Regions from separate parts of the Homo sapiens genome. Here region 2 is linked to region 1. Evidence: promoter capture Hi-C in human tissues and cell types (Jung and others, 2019). All regions are on one chromosome and are shown on one strand. Each heading gives the region's core, a stretch centred on a gene start or on the middle of the fragment in contact. The rest is flanking DNA. Distances are from core to core; before and after follow the strand shown. Region 1 holds the start of TIMM8B (translocase of inner mitochondrial membrane 8 homolog B). Region 2 has its middle 14 kb from the start of PTS.

Region 1 (3,005 bases), core at 506-3,005:
TATTTCTAGTGTTCCTGCCAATCAGAGATCTCTATATTAAATTCTAAAATGGGATTAAAAGAAGAGTTGGAGAATTCACACTTATTGAGTAACTGATGTCATACAACCTGGAATTTCTGAATTCCAAATAAATAAATTTCACTCTTTGAACATTTCATCTTTTACTTTTTAGCACCAACAGACTTGATAACAGCCTGATGCTGATCTGACAATGGGTTGATAGCCTTCCCCCACTGACCCTTAAATCTGCTTAGTAACAAGTCCTTTGCTTCTGTCATTCTCCTGGGGGATGGCCTACTGCCCTCCTTTCTGTACAATCTGGGCAAACCGACTGGTGATGGCAAGAGTGGTGTCAATGAAGCGGTCTACACAGCTGGAGAGACAATTTTCAGTGCGAGAGTCTAGGCGATTCCCTGGCTTCTCCACACATTTATCCCAACATAACTCCATGAAGTGATGCACCTAAAAGGAAAGAAAAATAGTAACCATTGGGGTCTGCAGATAGGCCTAACTCTTGTTTATTAACTTCTCACTTTTTGACACCTGACAAAACCATTCTTTAAATCAACCACGGAGTCACTTTGGGCTCTTCTCTTTCTTCATTTCCTAATTAGTCACCAATATTGATCCAGATCCTCGTCCCTACAGATTGTACATTCTCAGGTAGGACTAATAACCTTTTATATTCCCCAAAGTAGCTAGCACCATTGTGAACCAACTAGGGAACCAATTAATTTTCCCAAACTATTGCACTCATTTTATTCCAAACCTATCCCCTAGACAAGGTAATTCTTCCATTAACCTTTTGGGGGTTATGGATCCACTCCCCAGAAAAATGCACATACAGGCACAGAAATTATGTGCACTGTCATTAGAATGTTCAGGGCCCAAAGATTTCTAGCCAGGGTTCTTGCTGGTCATCCGAGCACCCTCTTCCTCCCACCCAAAAGGAAAAAACCATTTTACCAAGAGCTTACTATTTGTGAGGCTGGGTACTAAGAAATCAGTTCTCTCTAAGGTCCTCAAGGATAGCTGTCATCACCTCCCATTTAAGAGGCGTGATTATGTAGTCCAAGGTCATGTAGCCAGCAAGAAGTCAGGCCGCGTTAGAACCATGTCCGAAGGGCTCCAAACCCTTGTTCTACATCCATAGTCTACAGCGACTACTTCAGAGTCCACCTTCCTCCGATAATGTTCTAGTCGTTTTCAAATACATTGTCGCATATGATCCTCACAATCCAGTGAGGCAGTGGGGTGACGGCGACACCAAAACCCACAGTGGATGAGTATCTTTTCTACGGGCACGTGGCCTGCAAGGAGCAGAGGGAGGATGAGAACCCAGATCTTTCGAATGCCAGCCCAGTCATGTCGCCGGCTAACTAGTCTCCCGTACCCTTGCGTCGCCCAAATCTTCCCTGTTTTACACCTTTTCTTTTCTCCACGCTACGCTTATATACCTGGCACCTGAGCACTACCGGTCACCAGGGACAGGAGAGCCATAACTTTGTCTTTCGTGAGGGGAATGGGATGCAGCCGGGATCGAGCACCAGTGAGCCGCCAGTGTACAGACCTCCGAGCGTGCCCAGGACCACCAAGGAAGGTGAAACTTCCTTTCCCTTCACCCTCCCCGTCCCCGCACCTGTGCAGTAAACTGCGCCTTCTGCTGCTCGGCGGCCACCAGGCGCTGCAACTCCGCTTCATCGGCTTCGCCCAGCTCCGCCATTGTTCGCCTCAGGCTCGCCACCTTCCGACAGCTGTGTTTGCGCATGCGCGACGGGTGTGCACCGCCTCTCGACTTCCGGTTCACCCAGCATTTCCTCTTCCCTGTTTTCTTTCGTCGTCGTGGGTGGGAATTGTCGCCTAAGTGGTTCCGGGTTGGTGGATGACCTTGAGCCCTCAGGAACGAGATGGCGGTTCTCTGGAGGCTGAGTGCCGTTTGCGGTGCCCTAGGAGGCCGAGGTGAGGGGTCTTCCCACCCTGAGGTGCTTAGCGTAGCCTCCAGCCAGGGAAGGGGATGGAAGTGAGGACTCATCTGCCGGGTGGGAGATCTCTTGAGGAGAAGAAAATACCGAAATCACAGCAATGACCACTGTAGTCTAGGGGTCCAGATGTTTACCCGAAGGTATATTTCACTTGCTGTGAGCTGACGAGTTGAGGGAATAATCAGAAAGAGAGCTCCCTCTGGAAGTCGCAGTCCTGATGAGGCTAATCCACATAGCAGTTCTGTTTTCTCCCCGTTCACTGTCCCTAGAATGCTCCCCACTCGCTCCCACCCTGAGTCGGGAAAGAGGGTTAGGAGCTTGCCCATTTCTTCTGGAGTTGGTGTGTTTGGATGTGGGAGTGGAGGGGGGATCAGTTCGAAAATCATTTAACCTGGGCATTTGTGTTACCTCAGGTACTGTAGTAATGCTAGGATACAAATGTGAAGAAAACGTAGTTCCCGCCCTCAACGAGCTTTCATTCTGATGAGGAAAACACTGTCATAGTAGTCCGGGCAAGATGAGGTCCTGAACTAGGAAAGTAGCACAAAGAAAAGAAGATTGTCTCAAGAACTGTTAAAGAGATACGCCAATAGGATTTGGCGATTGAATTTAGGGGAAAAGTCTCTCATGATTTCCAGATTACTGAGTTAGGTTAAAGAATGCCTGAGGTGTCATTAAATAAAGTAGGGAACATGCAGATGTTCCCTGGTCTTAACTTCACAGTAACCCCAGTGAAATAGATGCTATCTTCATTTTACAAATAAGATGTTATCCCCTATTTATTGTTAAGTAGCTTACCTATGGTCATTTAGAAAGTTTGTCAGTCCTGTTAAAGGAGAGGTTCTTATGATCATCCTAATGACTCTTTCCTCAGCTCTGTTGCTTCGAACTCCAGTGGTCAGACCTGCTCATATCTCAGCATTTCTTCAGGACCGACCTATCCCAGAATGGTGTGGAGTGCAGCACATACACTTGTCACCGAGCCACCATTGTATGTTCTCTCCATCGCTGCTGCTTTCTGGG
Region 2 (5,075 bases), core at 1,696-4,195, 150 kb after region 1:
AGCTCATCAGTTGGTTTGTTCTCTTCAAAAATGGACTCACCCATTTCCACCAGTGTTCTGCAACCATTGAGACAGAAAAATTTATATATATATATATATATTACATATATTTTGAGACGGAGTTTTGCTCTTGTCATGCAGGCTGGAGTGCAGTGGCGTGATCTTGGCTCACTGCAACCTCCGCTTCCCGGGTTCAAGCGAAGATTCTCCTGCCTCAGTCTCCCGAGTAGCTGGGATTACAGGCGCCCGCCACCACACCCAGCTAACTTTTGCATTTTTAGTAGAGATGGGGTTTCACCATGTTGGCCAGGCTGGTCTTGAACTCCTGACCTCAGGTGATCCACCCGCCTCGGCCTCCCGAAGTGCTGGGATTACAGGCATGAGCCACTGTGCCCGGCCAAGAATTAATAATTTTAAAAAAGAAATAGAACAGTGTTCTTCCTACCCACCTTTCTTTGTAGTTCTTGGCTAAAGAAGCACCTCCCAGGCTTGTAAGCCTTGTATTCTTGAAGAAGCCCAGCAGGACGCAGTGGCTCATGCCTGTAACCCTGTATATTTGGGAGGCCTAGGTGGGTGGATCACTTGAGCCCAGGAGTTTGAGACCAGCCTGGGCAACATGGCAAAACCCCGTCTCTATGAAAAACAAAAACAAAAACCCCAAAATTAGCCAGGCATGGTGGCATGCATCTGTAGTTCCAGCTATTCAGGAGGCTGAGGTGGGGGTATTGATTGAGCCTGGGAGATCAAGGCTGCAGTGAGCCATAATTGTTCCACTGCACTCCATCCGGGGCAACAGGGCAAGACTCTGTCTCAAAAAAAAAAAAAAAAAAAAAAGGCCAAGAAACAAGTACTGAGTACTTAAGCCCATATTTGCCCTTATCAAGCCAGTTTATTATTCAGTGAAAATTCTCAAGTTAGTATGATAATAATCTGAACCAAGTTTTCAAACCCTTTTCACTTTTCACAAGTATCTTCATAGATGCAAGCACTGTGGCTACAAACAACATGAAGAAATAAAGGGATTAGTGTGTCTTTTACCTATTGAAAATTTTACTTGACCACAGATAGAGCCACTGATGGGCGTCCTGTGGGCACCTCAAACTTAACATTTCCAAACATGAATTTCTGATTTCTCCTTCAAAACCTGTCCGTCTGCCAGTCTTCCTTAATAATGCCACAACCATCCATTCTTTTTTTTGAAGACAGATTCTCACTCTGTTGCCCAGACTGGAGTGCAGTGGCGTGATCTTGGCGCACTGAAGCCTCTGCCTCCCGGGTTCAAGTGATTCTCATGCCTCAGCCTCCTGAGTAGCTGGGATTACAGGCACCCGCCACCATACCCAGCTAGTTTTTGTAATTTTAGTAGAGACGGGGTTTCACCATGTTGGCCAGGTTGGTCTTGAACTCCTGGCCTCAAATGATCTGCCCGCCTCAGCCTCCCAAAGTGCTGGGATTATGGGCATGAGCCACTGCACCCGGCCCCATTCATTTTTTCAAATGAGAAACCTGGGAGTTCTTTTTGACCTACTCCTTCCCCTTCCCACCTCTTAAATCTAATCTATCAGAAGGTTCTGGTTCTACCTCCAACATGTATAATGGTTTTTGTCTGTCTCTCGTTTTTTAGTTTTCTTTTTTTTTTGGGCGGGGGGGAACTGAGTATTGCTCTGTCACCCAGGCTGGAGTGCAGTGGCGCGATCTTGACTCAGTGCAGCTTCCGCCTCCCAAATTCAAGTGATTCTCCTGCCTCACCCTTCCGAGTAGCTGGGATTACAGTTGTGTGCCACCATGCCTGGCTAATTTTTATATTTTTAGTAGAGACGGGGTTTCACCATGTTGGCTAGGCTGGTCTTGAACTCCTTACCTCAGGTGATCTGCCCGCCTTGGCCTCCCAATGTGCTGGGATTACAGGCGTGAGCCACCGCGTCTGGCCCTGTCTCTCATTTCTGATGTCACCACATGAGTCCAAACCGCCACTGTTTCTTGCTTGGATTACTGACATGGCCTCTTAACTGGTCTCTGCCTTCCCCTTTAGTTCTGTTCCACAATCCTATGGATCTTTCTAAAAGAGTAAATTAGATCTTGTCACTTCCCTCCCCCGTATCACCACTTGAAAGCTTCCTCCTGCTTTAGGAATATAATCCAAACTCCCCACACTATCTACCAAGCCTGATAGGATCCAGTCCCTGCCTGCTTCCCAGCCTCAAGCCCTTCACTGTTTTGGTTACATTAGCCTGCTCTGAAGTCCTCAGACGCACCAATTCCATTCCTGTCTCTAGAGCTCTGCATTTACTGCCCTTCTCCCTGAACTGCCGCTCCCCTAAATCCCCTGCAGAAAAACCTAAGCATTCTTCAGATCTCAGCTTACATGTCACCCTCTTGGAGAAGCCTTCCTCAGGCCAGCCGTATAGATAGAACCTTGTTGTATTCTAGGACAATACCATATACTCCTCTTTCTTGCAGTTTTAAAGTTTTGTATATTTGCTTCCTTTTGTCTTTTTCACTAGTTTACTGTCCATCCCAACCACGAGGGTGTCAGCTTCACAAGGGCTGAAGCCCTGTCTGTCTGGTTCATTCTTGTCTCCCCAGGACCTAGTGTAATGCCTGCCATACAACAGGTGCTGAATAATTATTTACAGGATGAATGAATGTGCCTGCCATCTCTAAAGAAGTGGTGAATCTAGTAATCTGGTTTGGTAAATTTTTTGAGATTTAATAGCTAGACTACAAGTGTATACCACCATGTCTGGTTAATTTATATTAGATAGATAGACAGATAGATAGATAGATAGATAGACAGATAGATAGATTTTTAGTAGAGACAAAGATGTTGCTATGTTGCCCAGGATAGTCTTGAACTCCTGGGCTCAAGTGATCCTCCTGCCTTGGCCTCCCAAAGTGCTGGGATTATAGGCATGAGCCACTGCATCTGGTCTAATGCCAAACTTCTTGAGCATCATTCAGATAGGTGTTATTCTTTATGCAGCTCAGCTTAGAGAACAACCACTACAATATAAAATAAAATTTCGTAAGTATTCCTTCAAAGCTGTTTATCTGCCTAACTTAATCTTCCTGGGAATTTTCCATTGCTATTTGTGGATACAATTTGTTTTAGTCTTCAACTACTGATTTAGGTAAAGATAAGCCAGAACTCTAAATCCCAGCCCTTTTGGTAAATGGCCATCCTCATGACCACACAAGGGGCCTCCCTTTTAGCAGGGTAAACAATAAAGGTTGCATGTATTTGTCTCTCTCCCAGCTGTTGGAGAATAGATTTGTCTTAGGCAGGGAGAGCCTCAGCTGATTTTGCAAAGAATGCTCTTTATCATTCTATCTGTTTGGCCGCGAGAGCAGGATTCCTTCTGGAATGTGGAACTGACCTCATTTGTGGTAACACTGAGGCAATATTTATTTTCTGGCAAATGTGAGCCTCCTAATTTGTTGCTGTAATAACCCTCAGTAATTCCCAGATTACTAGGCGGAGAGTCAAGGCTCCATTCTTGAAGGGGAAAATGGTGTTTGCAAAAGAAAAAAAATGCAACTTAACCAGATTGTGGGGTATAGCATATTCCACCCACATGTGAGAGCAGGTTGATGTCTGTGTGTTTCTGTAAAGGGGTCTCAGACCAGACCCAAAGACCGGGTTCTTGGACCTCACACAGGAAAGAATTCAGGGTGAATCACAGAGTCTGGTGAAGTTAAGATGGTTTATTAGAAACTACTCTTATTAAAGAGTAAGATGTCCTCAGAAAGCAAGAGGAGGAACACCCCTACCTCAAACATGATGCTTGCTTATATAGGATATTAGTGTAACTGAGTACTCCCGTTTGTCTAAGAAAAAGAGTTATTTTTTAAATTATTATTATTTGTTCTTTTTTCTTTCTGCTTTCCCCCTGCTCCCAACTTCCTACTTAGCTCTTCAGAAATGCAATTATAACCTTTTACCTCCCTTCACCAGCTACTCCCTACAGGGCAAGTTCATCTAACATGCCAAGTCCCCCTTTAAAAGCACCTGCTTTCTGCTCCAAAAGGGAAGTGGTACCCTGAAAGGCAGGAGCCTTTACGTCTTCCTCTAAGCTAGCTTTGGAATAAAAAGTCACTTTCTTTTTTCTTTTTCTTTTTCTTTTCTTTCTTTTTTTTTTGAAATGGAGTCTCGCTCTGTCGCCCAGGCTGGAGTGCAGTGGCGTGATCTCGGCTCACTGCAAGCTCCGCCTCCCGGGTTCACGCCATTCTCCTGCCTCAGCCTCCTGAGTAGCTGGGACTACAGGCACCCGCCACCACGTCCTGCTAATTTTTTGTATTTTTAGTAGAGATGGGGTTTCACCGTGTTAGCCAGGATGGTCTCGATCTCCTGACCTCATGATCCGCCCACCTCGGCCTCCAAAGTGCTGGGATTACAGGCATGAGCCACCGTGCCCAGCCAAAAGTCACTTTCTTTATACCAGATCTTGCTCTTGTTAACTGGACTCTGTAAGTGGCATGTGACTGAACCTGATTTTTGATTACATAAGGGCTAAGAATAATGTGCTTTATCGTATGTTTATTGCAGCACTATTTACAATAGCAAAGACTTGGAACCAACTCAAATGCCCATCAATGATAGACTGGATAAAAAAAATGTGGCACATATACACCATGGAATACTATGTGGCCATAAAAAAGAATGAGTTCATGTCCTTTGCGGGGACGTGGATGAAGCTGGAAACCATCATTCTCAGCAAACTAACACAGGAACAGAAAACCAAACACCACATGTTCTCACTCATAAGTGGGAGTTGAACAATGAGAACACATGGACAAAGGGAGGGGAACATCACACACTGGGGCCTGTCAGGGGGCAGGAGGAGGGACAGCATTAGGAGAAATACCTAATATAGATGCTGGGTTGATGGGTGCAGCAAACCACCATGACACATGTATACCTACGTAACAAACCACATTCTGTATGTGTATCCCAGAACTTAAAGTATAATTAAAAAAAAGTGTGCTTTATTAAAAAGACTTGGGGTCAATTTACGACAGGCTATTAGTATTGTTATTCTCTTGTGTAATTATTGATTTCAGCAAGAATTTATGAG

What was found. The method cuts DNA at HindIII sites, captures the fragments that hold promoters and counts their contacts. A contact is called where the count stands out against the background at its distance.
Region 2: a fragment that was not itself captured here is called in contact with the fragment with the promoter of TIMM8B in region 1 in 1 of the 25 tissues and cell types used here (bladder).

The regions. Positions count from the first base shown.
Region 1 is chr11:112,085,001-112,088,005 of GRCh38, forward strand. TIMM8B (translocase of inner mitochondrial membrane 8 homolog B) reads right to left here and starts at 1,756. Exons shown (of 2, transcript NM_012459.4): 1 at 1,640-1,756; 2 at 1-462. The coding sequence starts at 1,723. The coding sequence ends at 295. SDHD (succinate dehydrogenase complex subunit D) reads left to right here and starts at 1,873. Exons shown (of 4, transcript NM_003002.4): 1 at 1,873-1,959; 2 at 2,857-2,973. The coding sequence starts at 1,908. It overlaps NKAPD1 (NKAP domain containing 1), which reads left to right. Exons shown (of 6, transcript NM_018195.4): 6 at 1-150. RefSeq lists enhancers at 1,311-2,510, 1,874-2,143, 2,837-3,005. The HindIII fragment of the contact is 14,912 bases long and covers 1-3,005 here.
Region 2 is chr11:112,238,373-112,243,447 of GRCh38, forward strand. No RefSeq gene overlaps it. Among named protein-coding and RNA genes, the nearest start is that of PTS, 14 kb to the left of the region's middle. The HindIII fragment of the contact is 5,450 bases long and covers 221-5,075 here.